6 separate regions of the Homo sapiens genome follow, and all the other regions are linked to region 1. Evidence: promoter capture Hi-C in human tissues and cell types (Jung and others, 2019). All regions are on one chromosome and are shown on one strand. The core of a region is centred on a gene start or on the middle of the fragment in contact, and the rest is flanking DNA. Distances in the headings are between cores, read along the strand shown.

Region 1 (4,095 bases), core at 340-2,839:
CATCTCCCTGCATCCACTGTGCTTCTCCCTGACCTTGTCTGTTTCTGACCTTGAGTCAGACCCATCTGGGCTACTTCTGGCTCCTAACTGCTGGTTAAGGCAAAAACCCTTAACGGCTCTATGACTCAGTTTCTCCATCTGTACAATGGTGGAGGGGGGGAACAAAGCACCCTCTCATAGTTGGTGCTTAGCACAATACCTGGCTCAAAGATAAGGCCAGAAAAGTGGGGGCTATTTGACTACAGTTGTTTTCTGCCTCTCTGGGCCGTTCCCGTCCAGCCAGCCCCTTCTCTCCTTAGCTCCACCGCCCCCTCACCCGCGTCCCTGGGGCCCTCTCTCACCGTCCTCCGCGTCTGGGGCACGGGCTACCAGAAAGGTTTCCCGGGGGTCGCGCTTCTTGGCCTCGGGGTCCCTGAGGAACCTGGCGTAGACCGTCTGCGGCGCCCGGGCCTGGGCTGGGTCTGGGGAAGGCTCCTCCCGCGGCCTCCCCGTCCGCCCAGCTGAGCCGAGATGCGGGGTTCAGACAGGGTCCCATCCGCGGGTCCGCGAGGCAGCGCCTCTACCCGCTACCCCCAAGCCTGGGCGCACCCCCTCGGGCTCCTCACCCTAGGGATCTCCCCTGGGCTTGGGTTTCCACTTTCAACACTTCTCCCCGGCTTCCATTCAGCTTCCCACCCCCTTCTACCCCAACGCCACCCCCTTCTACACCAACCCCAACCCCAACCCCAACCCCAATCCCTCCCCTCTCATCACTCCCCGCCCCCTCCTCCCCCACCCCGTTCCAGGGCTCGGCGACACCCGCGCCGGCCCTCAAGCCCCTCCCTTCCGCAGCCCACACCCTGGGGGTCCACCCGGGCTCTGCACCCCGCCCACCTCCGGGCTTCCGGGGCTTGGATCCCGTGGGGCAGGGGGATTCGGGGGCCTCCGTCCTCTTCTTCCTTAGCCTCTGTGCCGGGGCGGGTCGCTGCGGAACGGGGGTCAAGAGGAGGTCGAGGAAGGAAAGGGGGGCGCTGAGGCCCGCCCATCCCCCTCTAATCCCTTGAGCCGCCAGAAATAACCGCAGATTATCCGGGGGGAACTGCAGCCCCCTTCTTGGAGTGAGGCAGGATGACCCCTTCCATGCATCGTGGCCATATCCAATGCTCCAAAGTCCCTATTCCTTCCCTGGAAACCCCAAGTCCCCAAACAGCCCTTTCTCCCCCCAGATCTCCAGACATGCAACCCCCAGACCCTGCTAAGGGGGACCTGTCCCACCCCTAGACCCCCTACCCTGCGTGGGTTTACGCACAGCGGGGACATCTTTCTGCTTCCTTTCCAAGTGGGGTGGCATACCTGTTTGGGGCGCCGCGGGGCCTCCGGGCTCAGGCTTTCTTCTTCATGCCCACTGAGGGTAGCAAAGGGATCAGCCTGTCTCCCTTCCCCTTCCCTCCCCATCCCACCCACTCCCCATCCCTCCATCTAGGCCCCCCAGGGTTCAGGTGCCACGAACTGGGGGCCTTCCAGACCTGTCAGAGGCCCACACCTCTCGGAGGGTTTCATCCCGCAGAGGCATGGTGCCTTTGCCTATCGCACCCCTTTCTCTGCAGGTCTAGGAGCCTCCCTCCCGACTCCTGCTAATCTCGGCTCAACTTCACCCCCCTTCCCCCTGCTCAAGGAGTGGAGGCCTGGCCGCGCTGTGGGAGGTGCTACAGCCCACGACCCTCCCCTGCTAGGCCCAGGCCACTGGGGGAAGAATCTCAACTCCAGTTCTTCTCAGATCCCCAGCAGCCTGCAGGATGGCCACCAGCTCCACCTGCCCCGAGAAGCCCCCAGAAGCTTGGGGTGAGAGGGGCCGATTAGTCATTTGTCAATGGGATGTGGAAGAAAACATTAGACTGGATCCTGTATTTATCTTTATTTCTCACAAAAAATAAGAACTAGAGCCAGGTGCGGTGGTTTACACCTGTAATCCCAGCACTTTGGGAGGCTGAGACAGGTGGATCATTTGAGGTCAGGAGTTCGAGGCCAGCCTGGCCGGCACAGTGAAACCCAGTCTCTACTAAAAATTCAAAAATTAGCCGGGTGCGGTGGCTCACCCCTGTAATCCCAGCACTTTGGGAGGCCGAGGCAGACGGATCACAAGGTCAGGAGATCGAGACTATCCTGGCTAACATGGTGAAACCTCATCTCTACTAAAAATGCAAAAATTAGCCGGGCATGGCGGCAGGCACCTGTAGTCCCAGCTACTCAGGAGGCTGAGGCAGGAGAATGGCGTGTACCTGGGAGGCGGAGCTTGCAGTGAGCGGAAATCATGCCACTGCACTCCTGCCTGGGCAACAGAGTGAGACTCCGTCTCAAAATAAATAAATAAATAAATAAAAAATTAGCTGGGCATCGTGGTGGGCACCTGTAGTCCCAGCTACTGGGGAGGCTGAGGCAGGAGAAGCACTTGAACCTGGGAGGCGGAGGTTGCAGTGAGCCGAGATCTTGCCAATGCACTCCAGCCTGGCCAAAAAGAGCAAGACTACATCTCAGAAAAAAAAAAAAAAAAAAGAATATGTCTGTATTGGAGGTATACCCTTAACTCTTTTTCTTTTTTCACTGATAGGGGACATGCTTTTGTGGTATTGTTTTGTTTTGTTTTAGACAGAATTTTGCTCTTGTCACCCAGGCTGGAGTGCAGTGGCACGATCCTGGCTAATTACAGTAAATCCATATCAAATGGAACTTTCTAAAATACTATTTCTTCGGTTGCCACCTTTGTTCAAAAACATTCATTGGCTCCCTACTGCCTAAGGATTAAGTTTAAATGTGTTGGGTTGACATTCAAGGCTCTCCCTGATCTGGCCCCAGTCTGCCTTTCTAACCACAGGGTTATCCCAAGCCATACTCTTCATCCAGCCACAGAGGTTTCCTTACTGCCTTTACAGTTCTGTCCTCCATGCCTTTGCTCAGGCTGTTCCCTCCCGGAACGCCCTCCCTATTCCATGAAACCTATCCAACTCTAAACAGTCCTCAAGTCGCCACTTCGGAGAGGCCTCAGTCCTCAGTTGGCTCTGACCATATAATAATAATAGCATTTATTGTCCACCTACTGTGGCTTGCTCCCATTCTGACTCCACCCTCACAATAATATTTATGAGACAGACATTAACACCCTGATATTAGGGCAAGGAGCAGTGGCTTATGCCTGTAATCCCAGCACTTTGGGAGGATCACTTGAGCCCAGGAGCTCAAGACCAGGCTGAGCAACATAGTGAGACTTTGTCTCTACAAAAAATTTAAAAATTAGCTGAGCAATGTGGTACATGCCTGAGGTCCCAGCTACTTGGGAGGCTGAGGCAGGAGGATGACTTGAGCCCAGGAGGCAGAGGCTGCAGTGAGCTAAGACAGTGCCACAGCACTCCAGCCTGGGCAATGGAGTGAGACCCTGTCTCAAAAACAAAACCAAACAACCAAACAACCAAACGAAAACACCCTGATATTAAAGGTGAGGAAACTGACAGCTGAGTGTCAGTCAACAAGTATTTCCTGAGCACCTATTGTGTGCCAAGCGCTATGCTAAATAATGGTCATACAGAGATGAACAACATGATGTGGTCCCCGCCCTCGTGCAGCTTACATGCTTGTGAGAGAGACAGATAGTAGAGACATAAATACCCAAATTAGTGATAATGATCTCATTATTATTAGTTGTGAGAAATGCCAAGAAGGAAAGGAACTGGGCTCCACGAGACCAGCAGGTGGGTTCCAGTCTGGATTTAGAGTACAGGCAAGGCTGCCTGAGGAAGGAAGGTTTCGTTTTGTTTTGTTTTGTTTTTTGAGATGGAGTCTTGTTCTGTCACTCAGGCTGGAGTGCAATGGCACGATCTCAGCTCACTGCAACCTCTGCCTCCCAGGGTCAAGCAATTCTCCTGTCTCAGCCTCCTGAGTAGGTGGGATTACAGGCACCTGGCTATGTTTTGTATTTTTAGTAGACAAGGGGTTTCACCATGTTGGCCAGGCTGATCTCAAACTCCTGACCTCAAGTGGTCCGCCTGCCTTGGCCTCACAAAGTGCTGGGATTACAGGCATGAGCTACCATGCCCTGCCCTGAGGAAGGAATTTTTTTTTTTT
Region 2 (3,757 bases), core at 1,070-3,569, 230 kb before region 1:
AGGAGCCACAGGGCCCAGGGAGTCTGAGGATATTTTGCAATCCCTTTTCAACCTATGTCTGCTTTGTTTTTATTTTTATTTATTTATTTATGGGTTTTTTTTTTTTTTTTTTTTTGAGACAAGAGTTTTGCTGTTGTTGCCCAGGCTAGAGTGCAGTGATGCAATTTTGGCTCACTGCAACCTCCGCCTCCTGGGTCCAAGCAATTCTCCTGCCTCAGCCTCCCAAGTAGCTAGGCATGTGCTACCACACCTGGCTAATTTTTGTATTTTTTTTTTTTTTTAGCAGAGGCGGGGTTTCACCATGTTGGTCAGGCTGGTCTCGAACTCCTGATCTCAAGTGATCCGCCCACTTCGGCCTCCCAAAGTGCTGGGATTACAGGCATGAGCCACCGTGCCCAGCCTGCTTTGTTTTTAGACCTGGTTTCTCTTATGTGTCTTCTGACACAGTGCAGTTACACTAAAGCGGGTTACCCAAAGAATCTACCTGATGAAGAGAGTGAAGCTTGAAGGTCAGAGCAGACCAAGAGAGGCCAGGAGCAGAGCTCTTGTGAGACAGGGACCACGTGGAGGTTATCAGGGCTCTGGGCAAGGATGCTAATAGACCAGAGATGTCAGATGTCAGAATCCCCACCTTGACCAGTGGTTCTTCACCATTAATCCCTATCAGACCCTGATGACAGCCTTGGATTTCCCTCTCTCCTGGAAAATGCAAAGGCTCACACACCAAAAAAGTATTTTGGAGTAGCTTCAAGTTTCATAAACCCCCAGCTTCACCTCTGTGCTTCGCAGCATAGTAATTAAGGTCACACTCTGGATTAAATGGCCTAGGGTGAAATCCTCCTTTACTAGTTAGCTGTGTAACCTTGAGCAAGTTACTTAACTTGGTCTTGGGCCTCCAGTTCCCTCACTTTTAAATGAGGATAATCATAGCATTTGATTGTAGGATTGTTAGAACTAAATGAGTTAATGTATGTGACATTCCTAGCACGTGGTTAACTCTATAGTAGTGTTCACTATATAATAGTATTGCTGCCCTTGCACCTTAGCCCATTTAGTAAATGTTTATGGACAGAATGAATGAATAATTCTAGTTGAGATGCCATGCCTGGGGTAGAGCATTCCAATCAGCGTGTCGCAGTTGGTCTATAGGTTTTTTTGGGTTTTTCGTTTGTTTGTTTTTGAGACGGAGTCTCACTCTGTCGCCCAGGCTGGAGTGCAGTGGTGCAGTCTTGGCTCACTGCAAGCTCCGCCTCCCAGGTTTATGCCATTCTTCTGCCTTAGCCTCCCGAGTAGCTGGAACTACAGGCGCCCTCCACGCCCGGCTAATTTTTTGTATTTTTAGTAGAGACAGGGTTTCACCCTGTTAGTCAGGATGGTCTGGATCTCCTGACCTTGTGATCTGCCCGCCTCAACTTCTCAAAGTGCTGGGATTACAGGTGTGAGCCACCACGCCCAGCCAGTTTTTGTTTTGTTTTTTTCTTTTTTTTTGAGACGGAGTTTCGCTGTTGTTGCCCAGGCTGGAGTGCAATGACACGATCTCGGCTCACCGCAACCTCTGCCTCCCAGGTTCAAGCAATTCTCCTGCCTCAGCCTCCCAAGTAGCTGGGATTACAGGCATGTGCCACCATGCCCAGCTAATTTTGTATTTTTAGTAGAGACGGGGCTTCTCCATGTTAGTCAGGCTGGTCTCGAACTCCTGGATGGTCTATAATTTTGCCAAGATATTGATCCGCTCGCCCCTCAGGGCTGTCAAAGCCCCAGTTGGTCGCTTCTGGCTTGAAGCAGTGACATCTGCAATGTGAACTTCTGACTTTAAGCAGCAGCATCTGCAATGCAATGTACAAATATCTGTCTCTCTAGGTCCCCTGACATGAAAACAGTTTGGGTAGCACCAGTCAAAGATATCGGTTGGTAAGTCGTGAGAATCCAGTAGGCAGTCCAGATTCCAAGTCCAGGAGAATTTTGAGAATGGATGTCAAAGAGAGTCTTCACGACTGCACTGAGTTTAGAGGCCGTGGGCTTCCTGCAGGCTTCACAAGTGTTGGGGTCCACTGCTAGAGCAGGCTGCACACCACAGTGGGTACAGAAGATATCCTGCCAGCAGGAAGCTTCAGTGCTTCCCACCTTGCACATGAGGGACCCAGGGAGTCACTCACAGGATGTGTGGAGAGCCCACAGTGTGAGTTGCTGGAGAAACCACTGTGACGCAGAAACCAGGCTAGAGCCCAAAGCCTTGTGTAGGCAACGGACATTAAACAGATAGTGATGAGTACTGAAGTAGGTTGAGCCCAGAGGTGTGAGTGCTAGGAAAAGGTGGTACCTAGGCTGTGGGAGTTTATAACAACCCAGCCTTGTATGCAAGGTGGACTCTAAGAGCTGTAGGAAACTATGGAAGGGTTTTAGTCAAGGAAGTGGTATGTTTAGATTTGTACTCTTTTTTTCTTATAAATCTACTTTTATTTATTTACTTTTCATTAGCTTAAGTCCTTGAGGGGCACAGCGTCACACAGATTCTGTGTTCAATAGCTTTAGCAAGATTGCTTGGGAATTTAGCACAAACCATGCCACTGTTTCCATGGGCCTGAGTTTACCTTTCCCCAGATTATGCTGGTTTTCTTCAGTTTGCTGCCAGCAGTCAGTGTGTTGTTCTTTGCTTTATACATGTAAGTACATCTCTTGCCTAAATAGAATTAGTTTCATTTCGAGCATAAATACCTTCAATTTTTTTTTTTTTTTTTTTTTTTTTTTGGGACGGAGTCTCGCTCTGTCGCCCAGGCTGGAGTGCAGTGGCGCGATCTTGGCTCATTGCAAGCTCCACCTCCCAGGTTCATGCCATTCTCCTGCCTCAGCCTCCCAAGTAGCTGGGACTACAGGTGCCCACCACCACGCCCGGCTAATTTTTTGTATTTTTAGTAGAGATGGGTTTTCACCATGTTAGCCAGGATGGTCTCAATCTCCTGACCTCGTGATCCACTGTCCTCGGCCTCCCAAAGTGCTGGGATTACAGTCGTGAGCCACCGCACTTGGCCAATACCTCAATTTTAATAAGAGCTGTGTCCTCGCTTTGGTTCTGGAGGCCCCACTTACAGCTAGCAAAAAATGGCCTTGGACTACAGCCTTCCAAATGTATTGTATTTATCTTATTATTATTTTTGAGACAGAGTCTCTTTATCACCCAGGCTGGAATTCAGTGGTATGATCAAAGCTTACTGCAGTTTCAAATTCCTGGGGTCAGGCAGTGCTCCCACCTCAGCCTCTTGTGTAGCTAGGATTGCAGGCATGTGCCACTACACCTGGCTAATTTTTTTTTTTTTGTAGAGACAATGTCTTGCTGTGTTGCCCACATTGGTCTTGAACTCCTAGCCTCAAATAATCCTCCTGCCTCAGCCTCCCAAAGCACTGGGATTACAGGCATGAGCCACTACACCCCGCCCATATTTGCCTTTTGGAAGTCCTGTTCTCAGCAGGCCTCTACAGGCTCCAAGATAGTGGGAAGAGAGCTTTTTTTTTAAATTCACCCTGACAGCATAAACATGAATGTTAGAACATGAGTTGGAAGAGGCTGAGGCAGGAAGATCACTTGAGCCCAGGAGTTCGAGGTTACAGTGAACTGTGATGGAGCCACTGCACTCCAGCTGGGCGACAGAGTGATACTTTGTCTCTAAAAAAGGAAAGAAAAGAAAATGAATTGGAAACAGACAAAAGTTTATCTGAGGACATAAGTTATAAGGCTCCTTATAGTTGTCCAGAGGTGAAA
Region 3 (4,095 bases), core at 1,040-3,539, 160 kb after region 1:
TTTTGTATTTTTAGTAGAGACTGGGTTTCATTGTGTTAGCCAGGATGGTCTCGATCTCCTGACCTCATGATCCGCCCACCTCGGCCTCCCAAAGTGCTGGGATTACAGGCGTGAGCGACCGTGACCGGCCACTATCTTCTCGCTTAATAGCATAATTAGAAGATAAAATTTGTTATAAAGGGTAATCATCCAAATACAAAACAAGTTACAGATCAGAAAAGGGGGGAAAAAATCCCCTTTTACCTTCAGAAAAATGAAGACAAGAAAAAGAAACCAAACCATGAGAAATATAAATAATCTGATACAAAGTATTGAGGACATGGAAAAAAGTTTTGTATAGGCATTTGTGAATTATACAATTCAACTTCAGTGTTTAAAAATAATAAAGAAAAATTAATATTTCAGTAAAAATCAATCTAGTCCAGAAGCTTGCTTTTTTTTTTTTTTAAAGAAATAATGTGGCAGATTGCAGAGGTCTACGACATCTTTATGCATCCCAGGCCACTTTTTACCTCTCTAATCATGGGAAAGAATACACAACATGAAAAGCTTACCATTTGCAAAATGATTTCTTGATTATGCTTATGGCGACTAAAAAGTATTTGTGGCTGGAGGCGGTGGCTCACGCCTGTAATCCCAGCATTTTCGGAGGCTGAGGCGGGCGGATCACAAGGTCAGGAGATTGAGACCATTCTGGCTAACACGGTGAAAACTTGTCTCTACTAAAAAAAAAAATACAAAAAATTAGCTGGCGTAGTGGCAGGCGCCTGTAGCCCAAGCTAGTCGGGGGGCTGAGGCAGGAGAATGGCGTGAACCTGAGAGGCGGAGCTTGCAGTGAGCCGAGATCGCGCCACTGCACTCCAGCCTGGGCAACAGAGAGAGACTCCGTCTCAAAAAAAAAAAAGAAAAAAAGTACTTGTACATTATGCAAATGTTCAAAATGCAGAGAGGGCAAATGTATTTAAACATACGTTTCCAGGGAAGAAAAGGAAGTGATGTGATAGTGAATTGGTGATTGGGAATTAACATTATATAAGAGAAAAAATTACCAGCCCTGTAAAAAGGGAAGAGAATATTTATTGAGCAACTGGTATGGCCAGACGCTAAGCTTAGGGCTTTATACCTTCTATCACATTACATCTAGGTAGAAAAACAATGTAGAAGAAAATGCTTGAATACATAACATACCATTATGTGTTGTGTGTGGCATATATTAAAATCTAAGAGATTGGCTGGGTGCCGTGGCTCCTGCCTGTAATCCCAGCACTTTGGGAGGCCAGGGCAGGCAGATCACTTGAGGCCAGGAGTTCAAGACCAGCCTAGGCAACAGAGTGAGACCCCATCTCTACAGAAAATTTAAAAATTAGCCAGGTGCGGTGGTGTGCACCTTTAGTCCCAACTACTTGGGAGGCTGAGGTGGGAAGAACGCTTGAGCCTGGGAAGGAGCTTTGAGAGTGCCACTGCACTCCAGCCTGGGCAACAGAGCAAGACCCTGTCTCAAAAGAAAAAAAAAGAAGAAAACAGAAACAAAAAGTCCATTCTTTTGAGAATACTATTTATGTTTATAATACTATTATATTTATAATTTACAACTCTAAAAATGAAAGCAAGAAACCCTCTTCTCAAAGCAGATTTTGGAGACTTGGTTTTAAGTATTAAGAATAGTGAGGCTCATCTGAGAAATACAATCATGGGCTTATTAATAAGGTTGAATTATTATCATATAGTTCCTGGTAATAAAACTATTTTTTGTCTTGGTGCTTAATAGTAATAACAGAAAATTTATTTATTGTACTACTATAATTCCCACCCAGATAGCTGAGAATCACACTGAGATGAGAGTATAAAACAGCCTTCATCTAGTCCTGAAAGGGGCAGCCCTGCTCATTCGGTAGCTGTGGATCTTGAGCATATGCCTCTACTTCCTCTGAACCTCAATTTCCTCATCTGTAAAACAAGATGGCTGGACTAGAGGATGGTTCCCTTCCTTCTTCCCTTTCTCCCTCTCTCTGGTCCTTTCCACCTTATGGCTTGATGATTTAGGATCTAGACTGGGGTTTTGAGGACAGAGAGGAAACACTAGCAGAAACCCACTAAACTTTGGAGAAAAGGAGTGAGGATTATGTAAACAACTAGAATACAGAGAAAAAGAGAAAGCCAAAAACATTTACAAAAATAAATGAGCAAATAAAGAAGCATAATGGCCCAGTTTAGAAGATTATGAGCTTTACTATCAAAATTAGCTTGAATAGAAGTTTCAGTTATTTTGAAATCAAGGAAGGTAGAAATGCTGGAGATACAGACTTAGAAATTATCTGTAACACATAAGAGTTGACAAGTAACCCAAGAGTCTTTCCAAGTTCCCTCAGTACATATGGAAAAGATGTCACACTTCTTGGCTTACCTATTCATAACTGTGCCCCGACATATTCATCCACTAATTTCCAACAAGCTATCCCTCTAACCAATTTGGCTTCATCACTTCAAACAAACCTAGAGTATCTCCCCTTCATTATCACTCAATGTTCTATCTGAAATGCATTCTCCCTTCTCTCAACTTATTAATAATAATTTATCAAGCTCTAACAATGTTTGCGGAACCATTCTAAGTGTTTTACATGTATTAACTCATTTAATTCTCTCAACAATCCTAGGCGAGAGATCACGTCACTTGCTTAAGATGACACAGTAGCAGAACTAGGATTCAAACACAAGCAGTCTGGCTCCAAGGAGACTGTCAACTTGCTAATTAGTCCTTCAAAGCTGAGATCAAGTTCTGTCACCTTCCTGAAGTTCTCATTTGCTTAGCCTCTTGAGCCCTTAAGTAAACCACTCCTTTGCCACTTACCATTGGATCTAGGTTGTTAATTATCTTTTGTGCATATGTTCTGTCCTTTCTGAGAGCAGGATCATGTCCTGTTCATTTTGTTAACCCTACTTAGAACCTAGCAGAACTTAATAAATATCTGGAACACAGCAGTACTTATTAATGAAACTACACTAGTATTTAATATTTAGTGAAGACATACTAGGCGCTGAGCTAAGTGCTTTACATGTATTGTCTCATTTAATCCTCACAACAACCTTGAGGTAAGTGCTCATTTTGTCCCTCTCGCATGTTATAGTTGAGGAAACTGAGACTTACAGAAAATAAGTATCTTATCCCATACCACAAAGTGGTAGTGATAAGATTCACTGAAGTCTTACACGAGTCTATACCATACTCTAGGCTGGGTGTGGTGGCTCACGCCTGTAATCCCGGATTCTACGGATTCTACAGATATAGCATTTTGGGAGGCCGAGGCGGGTGGATCACAAAGTCAGGAGTTTGAGACCAGCCTGACCAACATGGTGAAACCCCGTCTCTACTAAAAATGCAAACATTAGCTGGGCGTGGTGGCACATGCCTGTAATCCCAGCTACTCAGGAGGCTGAGGCAAGAGAATCGCTTGAACCTGGGAGACAGAGGTTGCAGTGAGCCGAGATCACGCCACTGCACTCCAGCCTGGGTGACAGAGAAACACTCCGTCTCAAAAAAACAAGTCTATACCATACTCTTAATCCCCAGCCTACCACAAAACACCTTGAGGGAAGAAAGCATCAATCCTAACAATTTAATTCAACTTGCACTTAGCAGCAGCAATACTTCAGCATTACTGAATGCTGTGGATTCAGAATTAGAAGTTCAGCTCTGCCTTCAAGAAACTCTCACAGTCCATTATGACTTCAGGATCAAACTTTTATCAGTGCAAAAGTCATCATCATCGAAACTTAGGATTTTAACTTATATTTTAGGGGCAAAATCAAAACAATCCTTGGAATTCTCTTCTACACCATTCCTTCTACCCTCAGGCTTGCCCACCCCCTCTAACCCTAGGACTCCTCTCTCCAGTTGCTGTATAACAGAGTAGAAGGGTCCTATTAATCCTAACAACTATTGGGACATCTGAATTTAAATCAGTAATAGCTTAGACTCAAGGGCCTATTTGATAAATTCCACAGTCATAATGAAATATGGGTAATGAAGGACAGCTGGACAAAAGCAGCAGCAAGAAGAGAAAAAGAGGGATTTGACGTCATAGTGTAAAGCAAATA
Region 4 (3,614 bases), core at 343-2,842, 210 kb after region 1:
AACGGTGGCTGGCAAAACAGACCCCATCTCCCTGGAAGGCTGTGCCCTAGGATGGGAGGGTTGCAAAATGGAGGCAGCTCTGTCTCTGTTCTAGTAGTGGAGACCTGGATGACACCACTCCCCAGATGTCCAAGGACTGGGGGGCCTCTGGGGGCGGCATTTGAATTAGGCCATAAACGATTAGGAGAATGTCAGAGGAAGGAAGTGGTAGGGGAAAGGGGGCATTCCAGGCGGCAGAAACAACTCGAGCAAAGGCACAGAGGCGGGAAAATGCAGGGTGTGCTCGCGAGAGCCAGAGGTCCTCTGCAAGCTGCCTCCCGCATGTTCATGGAAGAAAGCTGAGGCCCAGAGAGAGGAAGTGTTTCTAAGACCTAGCAGTAGAAATGAGGTCCTCTTACTCCAGGTCAGTGATTTTTGTCACCCTAAAAAGCTTGCAGGAGGGAACACCGGGGAATCGGCTGTTGGTTTGGTTTCCTTTGCTTTCTTATCCCCATCTAGGGCTGAATCAGGGATCCCTGTTCTTTGCCTTCCTCTGCCAGCAGCTAGCTGTGTGATTCTGAATAAGTCACTTCCCCTCTTTGGGCCCCTCATCTCCAATACAAAGGAGGTATAAGGCCCGGCCTCACCTGGGAATCCCAATTCGGACTCCATAGCAAGCTAAAATGTGGCTTAGTTATTCTCCTATCCTCAGCACCTAGCAGAATCTACAGCACAACACAGGTGCTCAAATAACTGTTTTTGAATGAAGAAAGGAAGGAAAGAATGAAAAGCATCATGACTCTTCCTTAGCACTCTACTTTGACAGCCTCAGCCTCTCCCCTCCCCAGGCAGGACAAAGGATACAGGAGTTCCAAACCTTGAAGAGGAAGGCAAGAAAAACAAATAATCTAACTACACAGGGGCCCTAAACTCTGCCTCTGGGTAGATGCCCCTGAGAGAACCTTTCCTTGCAGCCTTGGCCTTGCTGAAACTGTGCAGTGGGGAGGGCCTGGAGGAGGGGCAGGGACCTCTAGCAGAACAGGAGGCAGCTGGGCCTGAGCCACAGCTGGCCCTCCCCTTGCCCCCTCCCAACTCACAGCCTCTCTGCTCCAAGAAGTGTCCCAAGCCCTCTGGTCCCAACCCTGAGGGGTTGGGCTGGGTCTGAAACCTCCTGTTTCCCAGCCAATGATACCTTCATTTTTTCCAGTTCCAGTAACCCCTTTTTTGAGGCCTCCCTTTCATGTTAAGAACTTTATTGCTCATTTCCCTCTTCTATGACAGCAGCTGTATTTCTTTTAACTTTGTAAAACACACACATGATCTATGGTGATAGAAATCAGAATCAGTTGCCTCTGCGGTAGAGACTGACTGGAAGGGGGCACGAAGGAATTTGGAGGTGGTGAAAATGTCTGAAATCTTGATCTAGGTGATGGTTACATGGGCAGATATATTTGTCAAAATTCATCAGGCTGTACACTTAAGATCTGTGCATTTTACTGGATGTGGAATGTATGTACATTATACCTCATAAAGTACTGCTAGCATCTAAAAGATACACATACAGAAAAATACACGGAACGGACATGCTCAGTTTAATGAATTATTTAGCCAGCGCCTGTGAAACACCACCCACAATGCCTGGTGCCCCTGTGTAGTCCACAGAGCCTGGCTATAACCAAGCAGTTTCCCAGGGACACCAACACCCACAGACAGGGCACCTCGACTCCAGACACCATGTGCCTCTTGCTTCCCGGATTCATGGAAACACAGAGACCAGGGATGGGGCAGAGCCCACAGGCTTTGGAACCTAGAATTTCCCATCAGTTCAACCCCAAGCTTGACTGCAACTCCCATTCTAGTGAATTGAAGGAACAGAAAACACACCATTTCCCCTTTCTGGGAGGGGGGTTTCCGTACCCGGCCTCCTCCAGTGAGTCTTGGCTGAGGGGTGGGGGTTGTCCCTAGTTAAAGTCAAGGAGAACTGTGCCTTCCCTGCATCCCTGCTAAAAATAACCCCAGGCAGTGTTGCTGCCACTGAGCAGCAGGAAGGACAGAGTCATGTTTTGCTTTAAAACTAGAAGCAGCTCGGCAGTTGGGGGCTAGGGCGGGGTGGGAGAGCAGGCTAGGGATCTGAGAACCCTGGCTGTGCTCCGTGCACCCCCACCCCCAGCTGCAGCTGGTCTTCCGGGGGTGCCTGAGAGGGGTGTGTGTATGTTAGTGCGTGCACGCGCATGTGTGGTGACAGGGCCTCCCAGCAGCAGAGCAGGGAGCCAGGGAAGCCTGGGAATGGGTGGGGAGGGGTCTCTGTCCTGATAACTGGAGCATGCAGCTGGAGGGCCAGGCGTCACGTACTCCATGGGGTCCCTACCTCCTCTGAGAAGCGTTCTGTCCCTGCAGCCCACACCAGGCTCCCTGGGGGTCGGAGAGTCTAGCCTTCTGCAGCGTGGCTGCCTGCCCCTCGGGGGCTCCTTGCACACACAGGGCTGGGGATTGTCGCTTCGTAGTCCCTGTCTCTGTCTGGCTTCCGCTCTGCCCAAAGAGAATGTGAGGTCCTCAAGGGTGGGCGCAGTCCGGCAGCGAGGAATTTCCCTGGAAACAGGAAGTACAAGATGTGTCAATGCAGGATCCTAGCAGAGGAGTGACAGGCTGAGTAAAGGGAAGGGAAGAGGCCCTCCTGGCTGCTCACTCTTGCTCTCTCCTCCCACTACTCCCCTGCCTGTCTCATGCATCAGAGGCCTCACATTGTTGGTCTCTCTTTCTCTGTGCATGTCTTGGGTCCCCAGCTCCTTGGAGCCACGATCATCCTGCAGTTGGCCTCCATTTTCCAAGGTAACAATAAAGAAGAATCACCATTAATTTCACAGGTACCCCATTCCGGGCACTGTGCTGACCCTGATGTGGATGATCTCATTTAATCCTCCCAGCAAGCCTGTGATATTGGAATGATTACAATTACTCCTTATTTACAAATTAGGAAACTGAGGCTTAAAGTGGTAAAGTGCTAGTCTAGGATCCCACTGGTAGTACATGAAAAAGGCAAGGCTTGAAGTCATGATATGGAACACAGAGCATGTCCAAGATGACTGTCCAGAAGACAATAAGAATTTTAGGGCCGGGCACGGTGGCTCACACCTGTAATCCCAGCATTTTGGGAGGCTGAGGCGGGTGGATCACCTGAGGTCAGGAGTTTGAGACCACGCTGGCCAACATGGTGAAACCCCGTCTCTACTAAAAATACAAAAATTAGCCAGGCATGGTGGCAGGCGCCTGTAATCTCAGCTACTTGGGAGGCCGAGGCAGGAAAATTGCTTGAACTCGAGAGGTGGAGGTTGCAGTGAGCTGGGATCATGCCACTGCACTCACAGCCACAGAGCGAGACTCTGTCTCCAAAAAAAAAAAGAATTTTAGAAATTTGACCATTCTAGATAATTTAGGACACATGGTTGCTGAACTTGATTTTTTTATTTAAAAAACACACATATACACACACCCCAAAATAGTGGCTTTTTTTTTTAGATGGAGTTTCCCTCTTATTGCCCAGGCTGGAGTGCAATGGCATGCTTTCGGCTCACCACAACCTCCGCCTCCCGGGTTCAAATGATTCTCCTGCCTCAGCCTCCCGAGCAGCTGGGACC
Region 5 (3,708 bases), core at 478-2,977, 140 kb before region 1:
ACACAGGCAGAGGCCTAGATTAGGAGATGGCTATAGTAGTACAGGTGAGAAATTCCTGGCCTGTAGTACTAAATACTTTTTTTTTTTTTTAAGACAATCTCACTCTGTCACCCAGGCTGGAGTGCAGTGGCATGATCTCGGCTCACTGCAACCTCTGCCTCCCGGGTTCAAGCAATTCTAGTGCCTCAGCCTCCTTAGTGGCTGTGACTACAGGCGTGTACCACCATGCCTGGCTAATTTTTCTATTTTTAGTAGAAATGGGGTTTCACGGTGTTGGCCAGGCTGGTCTTGAACTCCTGGCCTCAAGTAATCCACCCACTTTGGCCTCCCAAAGTGCTGGGATTATGGGCGTGAGCCGCTGCATCCGGCCTCTGTATTAAATACTTTAGCTGCATATTCTTTCTTCGAAATGACCACAAAAAGAAGGTATTACTGATTAATATGCATATGGTCTTGCGTATGGCCAGACTTATGACTTGCGTATGGTCATAAAGGTAGTAAGTTGCAGAGCAGCACTCAGACCTGCCTGGCTTTGATGACCGTGCCTTGATGGCACTGGAAGTGGAAAGGTGGGGGTGACTGGGGAGGTGAGGTTTTGTCCGTTCCCTGGATGCTAAAAGGAAATGGAGGAGTGTAAGAGGTTGATTCTTTGAACCTGGATGGCTGGGGCAAAGATAACACTGTAACAGGAAGAAGAGAGGCCGGAGGGAACACTGATGTGATGGGAGAAGGTGAGTGATTTGGGAACATGGGGCATTTGTTGGCAGGGTCCTTCCCAATTATAGGGCGAGTATAAATAGTTCCTGTGCTTTGTGTATGAAGAGGTACCCTTGGCCCAAAAAGACTCTAAATGTGGAAAAAGGATATGGTGGTGTGGTGGTGGTTTGAACATTGGGTTTGCGCAGATAGTGATGGTAACTGGCACTGGCCTGCGCTTCAGACTTTCACAGCCCGTTCACTTCTGTTGAAACTCACACAACCCTATTCAGGTTATCATCATTCCCTATCTGATTGATGAGGAAACTAAGGCTCAGAAAAATCCATTTGCTCAAGGAGAAACAGTGTTTCAGTTACCTACTGCTGTGTAACAAATCACCTGTGAAACTCAGTAGTTTAAAACAACCACCATTTATCCTTTCTCTTGATTGTGTGAATTGGGTCCAGATGCTTGGTTCTGCCCCACATGATGTCGGCCAAGCTTGCCCATTTGTCTGTGTTTAGCTGCACTGTAATGTCCAAGGCAGCTTCTCTTTGCATGGCCTCTAATCCTTCAAGAGTCTATCCTGAACTTCTTGCAGCATGGCATCTGGGGGCCAAGACAGTGGAAGCCAGTCGTGTTGAGGCCTGGGCTCACGTCCCAGAACATCACCTCAATCATGTTCTATTGGTCAGAGCTGTCACTGGGCCAGCCCAGATTCCAGGTTGGGAACTAGACGCCACCTCTTGATGGAAAGAGTGGCAAAAGGTTTGTAGCCATATTTAATCCACAGACAGCCGGTAGTGGATACCTGGATTTGAACCCAGATCTGTGTGACTCAGACTCACAGTCTGTCATGCCATACTGCATCCCTTTCTGCTTCTGGTTCCTTGGGAGTTGCAAAGCTTGCTGGCTCTTTTGTGTGGTTGGAGAGGGCTGATTTTTCTTGTGGTCTCCCACAGTGGAAGTTGTACTAGTCATCCCCCTTTTCACAGATGAGCATCCAAGATCACTGTGTCTTAGGGAACCTTCCAAAATAGGTTTGCTCTAGGGATTTGCTAGCTTCCCCCAAGCTTCAGCAGTGATAGCCAGACATGCATGGAATTTCCCTGTGGAGTTTCCCTTTCTGCGCTTAGTGGCCTTTTGATGCACAGTGCTCACTGGGTGGGATTCCTGCTGCATTGTAGCCAGATGTGGAGGCTAGCCCTATTTTGAGTTATCCCAGATGGTATCCAGCCCAGTGAGTCCCATACTTGACTCAACTGGCATATTCACCAGGGAGTTTTGGGGAAAATGTAGATTCCTGGGCCTTCCTCATGCCTATTGAATTAGAATTCCCAGGGATGGCGTCCAGGAACCTGCCTTTAAAGCTCCCCATTGATTTGGGAGTACAGCCTGGTTGGGAAACCAATGACTTCCAGAGGCTGGCACCCTCCCTCAGCCCAGTCATTTCAGAAAGATGCCTTTGAAGTCACTGATCAGAGGAGGCCACATGGGAGAGAATGATTTGTCCAGAGGGCCTCACACTTCACAACCAGGAAGTGACTCCTGAAAGTGTCCAGGAAGTTTCTATTTGAATCTGCTCAAATCTTTGATGTTGTTTTGCATGCTTTGATAGTATCTGAGCTTTATGGTGGCCTCTGGGTGTTTTTCTTTGAAAGTGTTTGCAGAGAGTAGCAAGCTCTTCCAGCAGTCAGCAGACACTCCCTAACCAGGAGCTACTTGGTCTGATTTATTTGAAATATGAAATTCCTTTGCTTGGCTGTCTGGTTGGTATCTTTGGTGTGAAGAATATGACAACCCTAGAGATACCTAGGTTAGCACAGCAGTTGGACCTTTCTAGTCTTGTGCCTTGGACATACTTAAGGTACACTTGGAAAAGTAGATTTTAAAACCCTGGATAATTTGGTTTGCCAGTTAAATAAACTTCTATATTTTAGAATATTTGGAAAATAAAGATAAATATAAGGAAGACCATAAAATTACCTAGAACTTTCCTCTCAGAGAATTTCCACGGTTAATGTTTTGAATGGCTATTCATCCTTCCCCTCATGACCCTTCACACCCCCTCTTTTTGAAAACCATATTGAAGTCATATTGAATGTTACTTTTTAGCAGTTTTGTTGAGATGTAAGTCATAAAGTCCACCTGTTGACAGTGTGCAATTTGATGGTTTTTAGTATTTACAGAGTTGTACAACCATCACCACAATCTAGTTTTAGAACATTTTCTTAGTCCCAAAAAGACATCTTATAATCCATTAGCGTGCATTCCCGCCTCGATGCCCCATCCCGCCCTTACTCCAGCCCAAGACTACCACTCATCTGCTTTCTCTACGTACAGATTTACCTGTTCTGGACATTTCATATAAATGGGATCATACAATATGTGATCTTTTGTGATTGGCTTCTGTCACTGGACATAATCATGGTACTGTTTTGAAACCTGCTTTAAACATTTATATCCTAGCAATTTGAATATAGTTTTCAAGAATGCACTTTTAATAGCAGAGCGGTATTCATTCTTATGAGAATATCTAATCTTATTTAATCAGTCCTGCCAACAGACGTTTAGGTTATTTCTCATCTTTTGCTCTTATAGCCAGTGCTCTCTGCACTCAGAAATTATTTTGTTGATTTATTGGTTAATTGTCCGAATCTGTGACTAGAACAAAAGCTCTTTGAGAACAGTCACCTTCTCTGTCTCCCCTACTACTTGGCATAGTTCCTGGCACTTGGTAGGTATTCAGTTTTTAAAGGATGTGTATGTGTGTATATGTGCAAATTTTGAATGAATCAAAATGTAAGGATATTAATAAATGTTGCCATATTGCCAAATTCTAGAAAGTTGTACTAATTTACCCTCTCACTGCAGTATAAGGGTACCTGACTCCCTGTTCCTTTGAATCTGGGTTAATTTGTACAGGAAGTCCTGTGATCTTTTGAATGATGATATTCTCTGACCTGTCAACCAGTTAGTTTGGGAATTGATGCTGTCTGTGTCCTGACCCT
Region 6 (4,069 bases), core at 1,516-4,015, 180 kb after region 1:
GCCGACAGCGGCGATGCGGTTCCCCAACGCTTGTCCCGAGGCGGCAGGTGAAGGCGGGGACCGCCCGTCCACACCCGGAGCGCGGCCACCCCGCCACCATCCCCTTCACAGCCCCGCCAGGTGGGCGAATCCGCCCCGCGCCCGCGGCGTCCCGGCGCTCGGCTCGCCCTGGGGTCCGGTTGTCCCGGCGCCCGGACCCGAAAGCGAAGTTTGGCTCCCGCCCGCAGCGGTGCCGGCTGAGGGTCCGGCCGCCTGTCCGGGGAGAGCCGGGGGCCAGAGACCGGAGGCGGAGCGGGACCTGTCATCCCGGGCGGGAAACAAAAGCCCAGTGAGGACGGGCGGGCGCGACCCGCCTCGCCTCTGCCGGGAGAGGCCGGCGGGGGCGGAGAGCGGCGCCCGCGGTCACTAGTCTCCGCGCCTCCCGCGGGGAGCACCGGCCCCGCGGCCCCTGGGGCGCGGCGAGGGGCGCCGCAGTGGGGCCGAGGCCTCCCGCGCGCTCCCCTCGAGGCTTCCGGACCCCGCTCCCCCGCGACACGCGGCTCCTGGGCTGCGAAGCCGCGTGGGGGTGGGAGCTGAGGCAGCGAGTGCGACCGCGGCGGGACCTGGAAGGAGGGCGTTCGGCTCCCGGGGCGCCGCGGCCGGCCGCCCCATCTCCGTGGCCATGGCGCCGGTACCTGTCGCCGCGGGGGCTCGCCGACTCCGTCACTCTCCGCCTTGCCCGTGCTCCGCTAACCCTTCAGCCCGCCCAGCAGGCCGCCCGCGCGCCGGACACCGCCGCCCGAGACTGGCAGCGCCCGCGAGCCGGCCCGAATCCCCGGGGCAGCGCCCGGCGCCGTCCCGCCCCAGCCGGCCGCAGGACCCGCCTTCCATAGGGCCCCGGGGCTGTCAGTCCGCCCCCAAAAGGCGCGCGGGCTGTCGATCCGCCTGTCCGGATTGGTGGCCGCGCGCCGTCCATGCAAATGAGGCCCCGCCCCCATCATTTGCTCCTCCACCTCCCCACGCCAGCCCACGTGTCTGGCCCTTGCCCTTTGTGGGGGCCATAGAGAAGGGATGGTGGAAACTGACACCCCCTCACATCTCTTACCTCCCGAGAAATTAATGCCTAAGCAAGCTAGTTGACTTCCCATCTGTATCGTCTCTCTGAAGGCACTGCCCCTCCTATCTGTCCACAGGGCCTACCTAGAGGCCGGAGAGGGGCAGGCCAGGCTGTTTGTTAGGTCAGCTGGCCAGGTTAGCCCTAGGAAGCAACCCCATTAAGTCTAAGATGCCCAGTCGGGACTGGGGAAATCCCACCTCGAGAACCAATTTAGCAGATATCACCTCCCTCTGGACACCCAGTGACTGTAAAGACCATACTTTCTCTTGGCTTGCTACCTTTCAAGCAGGAGATCCCAGGAGATTAAAACAGGAAGAGGCCTTACGGCTGAGTTCGGCCAGGTGGGGTGGCTCACGCCTGTAATCCCAGCACTTTGGAAGGCCGAGGTGGGCGGACCACGAGGTCAAGAGATCGAGACCATCCTAGCCAACATGGTGAAACCCCGTCTCTACTAAAAATACAAAAATTAGCTGGGCTTGGTGGCGCGCGCCGTCCCAGCTACTCGGGAGGCTGAGGTAGGAGAATCGCTTGAACCTGGGAGGCAGAGGTTGTAGTGAGTCGAGATCACGCCACTGCACTCCAGCCTGGTGACAGAGCAAGACTCCATCTCAAAACAAAAACAAAAACAAAACGGCTGAGTTCTTCCGCCAACTCCGAAAGGTAGACTGCCAACCAGATGGCTACCTCTGAGTTACTCCCATAGAGATGCAGGAGCTGCACCTGGGCCTTAGGGAATCTCTAATCAACTCTCTCATTTTTAAGGAAACAGAAACCTGATGTCCCATAGCTAGTTACACGTGGGACCTAATAGTTACCTATGGAAACCTAATATCCCATAGCCAGATTAGAACTCATGTCTCCTGGCTCCAAACCTGCTCTCTTTGCACTATACTGCATTCAAACATTTATGAAGAGCCTCGTCCAGAAATCGCCATGCTGCCTTCAAGAGATGATGCCTGGGCGCCGGGCGCGGTGGCTTACGCCTGTAATCCCAGCACTTTGGGAGGCCGAGATGGGCGGATCACCTGAGGTCGGGAGTTCGAGACGAGCCTGACCAACATGGAGAAACCCCGTCTCTACTAAAAATAATTTTAAAAAATTAGCCGGGCATGGTGGCGCATGCCTGTAATCCCAGCTATTCAGGAGGCTGAGGCAGGAGAATTGCTTGAACAGAGGTTGCAGTGAGCCGAGATCGCACCATTGCACTCCAGCCTGGGCAACAAGAGCGAGACTCCATTCTAAAAAAAAAAAAAGGGTGATGATGTCTGCAGAAAAGACAAATAAAGCCAAGACTGAAACCGCCTCGAGGGCAGGGGTTCTGTCTCAGTCATTTGTCTGTCCTCAGTGCCTAGAAGCTTCCCTGTTTACCAGTTGCCGAGGGGAGTCACTGAAACAATGTATTTGTTCATTAACGCAGAAAAACAAAGTTGATCAAAATTCCTCTGCATACTAATACCAATTGATTAAGCATCTACTATGCTTAATAATAGCACATATTAGGCAGGGCACAGTGGTTCACACCTGTAATCCTAGCACTTTGGAAGACAGAGGTGGGCGGATCACCTGAGGTCGGGAGTTCGAGACCAGCCTGACCAACATGGAGAAACCCCATCTTTACTAAAAATACGAAATTAGCCAGGCATGGTGACGCATGCCTGTAATCCCAGCTACTCGGGAGGCTGAGGCAGAAGAATCGCTTGAACCCGGGAGGCGGAGGTTGCAGTGAGCCGAGATGGCACCATTGCACTCCAGCCTGGGCAACAAGAGCAAAACTCCATCTCAAAAAAAATAATAATAAATAAATAAAATAAAATAAAATAAAAATAACAGCACATATTAAGCTCTATGCTATCAGGGTATATATGTCCCAACCCTCAAGGGCTTCATTAGGAGACAGTGACATACACGTAACATGTCAGTTCTCCTCTTCATGTTACAGGGGTTGTGACAGATGTCTGCATAGGGCACAATGGAAGGCGCCAAGGAAAGAGGAATCAGCTCTTCCTACGAGAGGCAGGGAAGGCGTCATTGAAGAGGTCACCTGACAGTAGAGCTGAATCTTAGAAGATGAAGTAGGTGTTTGCCAGACAGAGGGGTGTGGACAAGGGGGAAAGGGACTCCCAGGCAGGAGGGGACAGCGTGAGCAAAAAGCATGCAGACCTGGAAAAGCCTAATAATTGAGGGAACAGTGAGGAGCAGTGTGGGCAAATCTGCAGAGGGCTGTGTGGACGTGTCACATGTCTGGGACCAGGCTCTTCCAGGAGGAAGACAGAAAGGCAGGGGAGGCTGCCAGGCTGTGTTGTAATACACCGCAGCAACAACAACAGGCCCTGTAGATACAGCTACACGGTTCTTTTTTTTTCTAGGCCAGAGTCTGTGGAGAACAGTCAGTTCCACAGTTCCGATGGCAGCCTTGCTAGCCCCACCCACTCTCCCAGAAAACCACTCTGATCACTGCACTTGCCTTCCTTGGCATTTGGAAACACATGTGCTTGCATTTTCCCTAAACATTACTGCCCTTCAGAATTCAAAGATGACATGCGCTATGGCTGCAGATACCTGGATGTGGGATGAGCAGCCCTTTCCTAAGGCACAGTACGGTTCTTTGCAGGGTCTGTACCTAAGACCAGTTCCATGGGTATGTGACCTGTGTAGTACACAGGGCCGTGTACTTAGAAGAGCCCTGTGCTGGGTCTAATGCTCTGCTGCCGCCGTCTTGAAATTCTTAGTACTTTCTCAACAAAGGGCCCTGCACTCTCATTTTTCACTGGGCCCTGCAAATTATATGGCCAGTCCTGCCTGTCACTGGTAGTGACCCTGGGCATGCTTGTGGAACTGCTCAAACCACATCTCATTTTAAAAGCACTTCGCATTCACTAGACTCATTCACATGCATTTTATCATTTGATTCTCTTTTTCTGTCTTCCTTTTTCTTTTAGAGACAAGGGCTCACTCTATTACCCAGGCTGGCCT

Evidence for each region. The method cuts DNA at HindIII sites, captures the fragments that hold promoters and counts their contacts. A contact is called where the count stands out against the background at its distance.
Region 2: a fragment that was not itself captured here is called in contact with the fragment with the promoter of TULP1 in region 1 in 1 of the 25 tissues and cell types used here (dorsolateral prefrontal cortex).
Region 3: a fragment that was not itself captured here is called in contact with the fragment with the promoter of TULP1 in region 1 in 2 of the 25 tissues and cell types used here (dorsolateral prefrontal cortex and pancreas).
Region 4: a fragment that was not itself captured here is called in contact with the fragment with the promoter of TULP1 in region 1 in 2 of the 25 tissues and cell types used here (H1 embryonic stem cells and pancreas).
Region 5: a fragment that was not itself captured here is called in contact with the fragment with the promoter of TULP1 in region 1 in 1 of the 25 tissues and cell types used here (spleen).
Region 6: a fragment that was not itself captured here is called in contact with the fragment with the promoter of TULP1 in region 1 in 1 of the 25 tissues and cell types used here (IMR-90 fibroblasts).

What each region holds. Positions count from the first base shown.
Region 1 is chr6:35,511,307-35,515,401 of GRCh38, forward strand. It overlaps TULP1 (TUB like protein 1), which reads right to left and starts at 1,590. Exons shown (of 15, transcript NM_003322.6): 1 at 1,506-1,590; 2 at 1,333-1,384; 3 at 874-964; 4 at 342-500. The coding sequence starts at 1,552. The HindIII fragment of the contact is 7,738 bases long and covers 1-4,095 here.
Region 2 is chr6:35,276,698-35,280,454 of GRCh38, forward strand. All of the region lies in intron 1 of ZNF76 (zinc finger protein 76), which reads left to right. Among named protein-coding and RNA genes, the nearest start is that of ZNF76, 19 kb to the left of the region's middle. The HindIII fragment of the contact is 5,242 bases long and covers 1-3,757 here.
Region 3 is chr6:35,672,038-35,676,132 of GRCh38, forward strand. All of the region lies in intron 1 of FKBP5 (FKBP prolyl isomerase 5), which reads right to left. Among named protein-coding and RNA genes, the nearest start is that of MIR5690, 9.3 kb to the left of the region's middle. RefSeq lists a silencer at 69-268. The HindIII fragment of the contact is 6,359 bases long and covers 1-4,095 here.
Region 4 is chr6:35,717,981-35,721,594 of GRCh38, forward strand. It overlaps a transcript of FKBP5 not described here. Among named protein-coding and RNA genes, the nearest start is that of ARMC12, 17 kb to the right of the region's middle. RefSeq lists enhancers at 1-84, 2,523-2,762 and a silencer at 472-766. The HindIII fragment of the contact is 4,059 bases long and covers 1-3,614 here.
Region 5 is chr6:35,366,480-35,370,187 of GRCh38, forward strand. All of the region lies in intron 2 of PPARD (peroxisome proliferator activated receptor delta), which reads left to right. Among named protein-coding and RNA genes, the nearest start is that of PPARD, 26 kb to the left of the region's middle. The HindIII fragment of the contact is 4,387 bases long and covers 1-3,708 here.
Region 6 is chr6:35,688,130-35,692,198 of GRCh38, forward strand. It overlaps FKBP5 (FKBP prolyl isomerase 5), which reads right to left and starts at 786. Exons shown (of 11, transcript NM_004117.4): 1 at 675-786. RefSeq lists a silencer at 166-1,015. The HindIII fragment of the contact is 9,341 bases long and covers 1-4,069 here.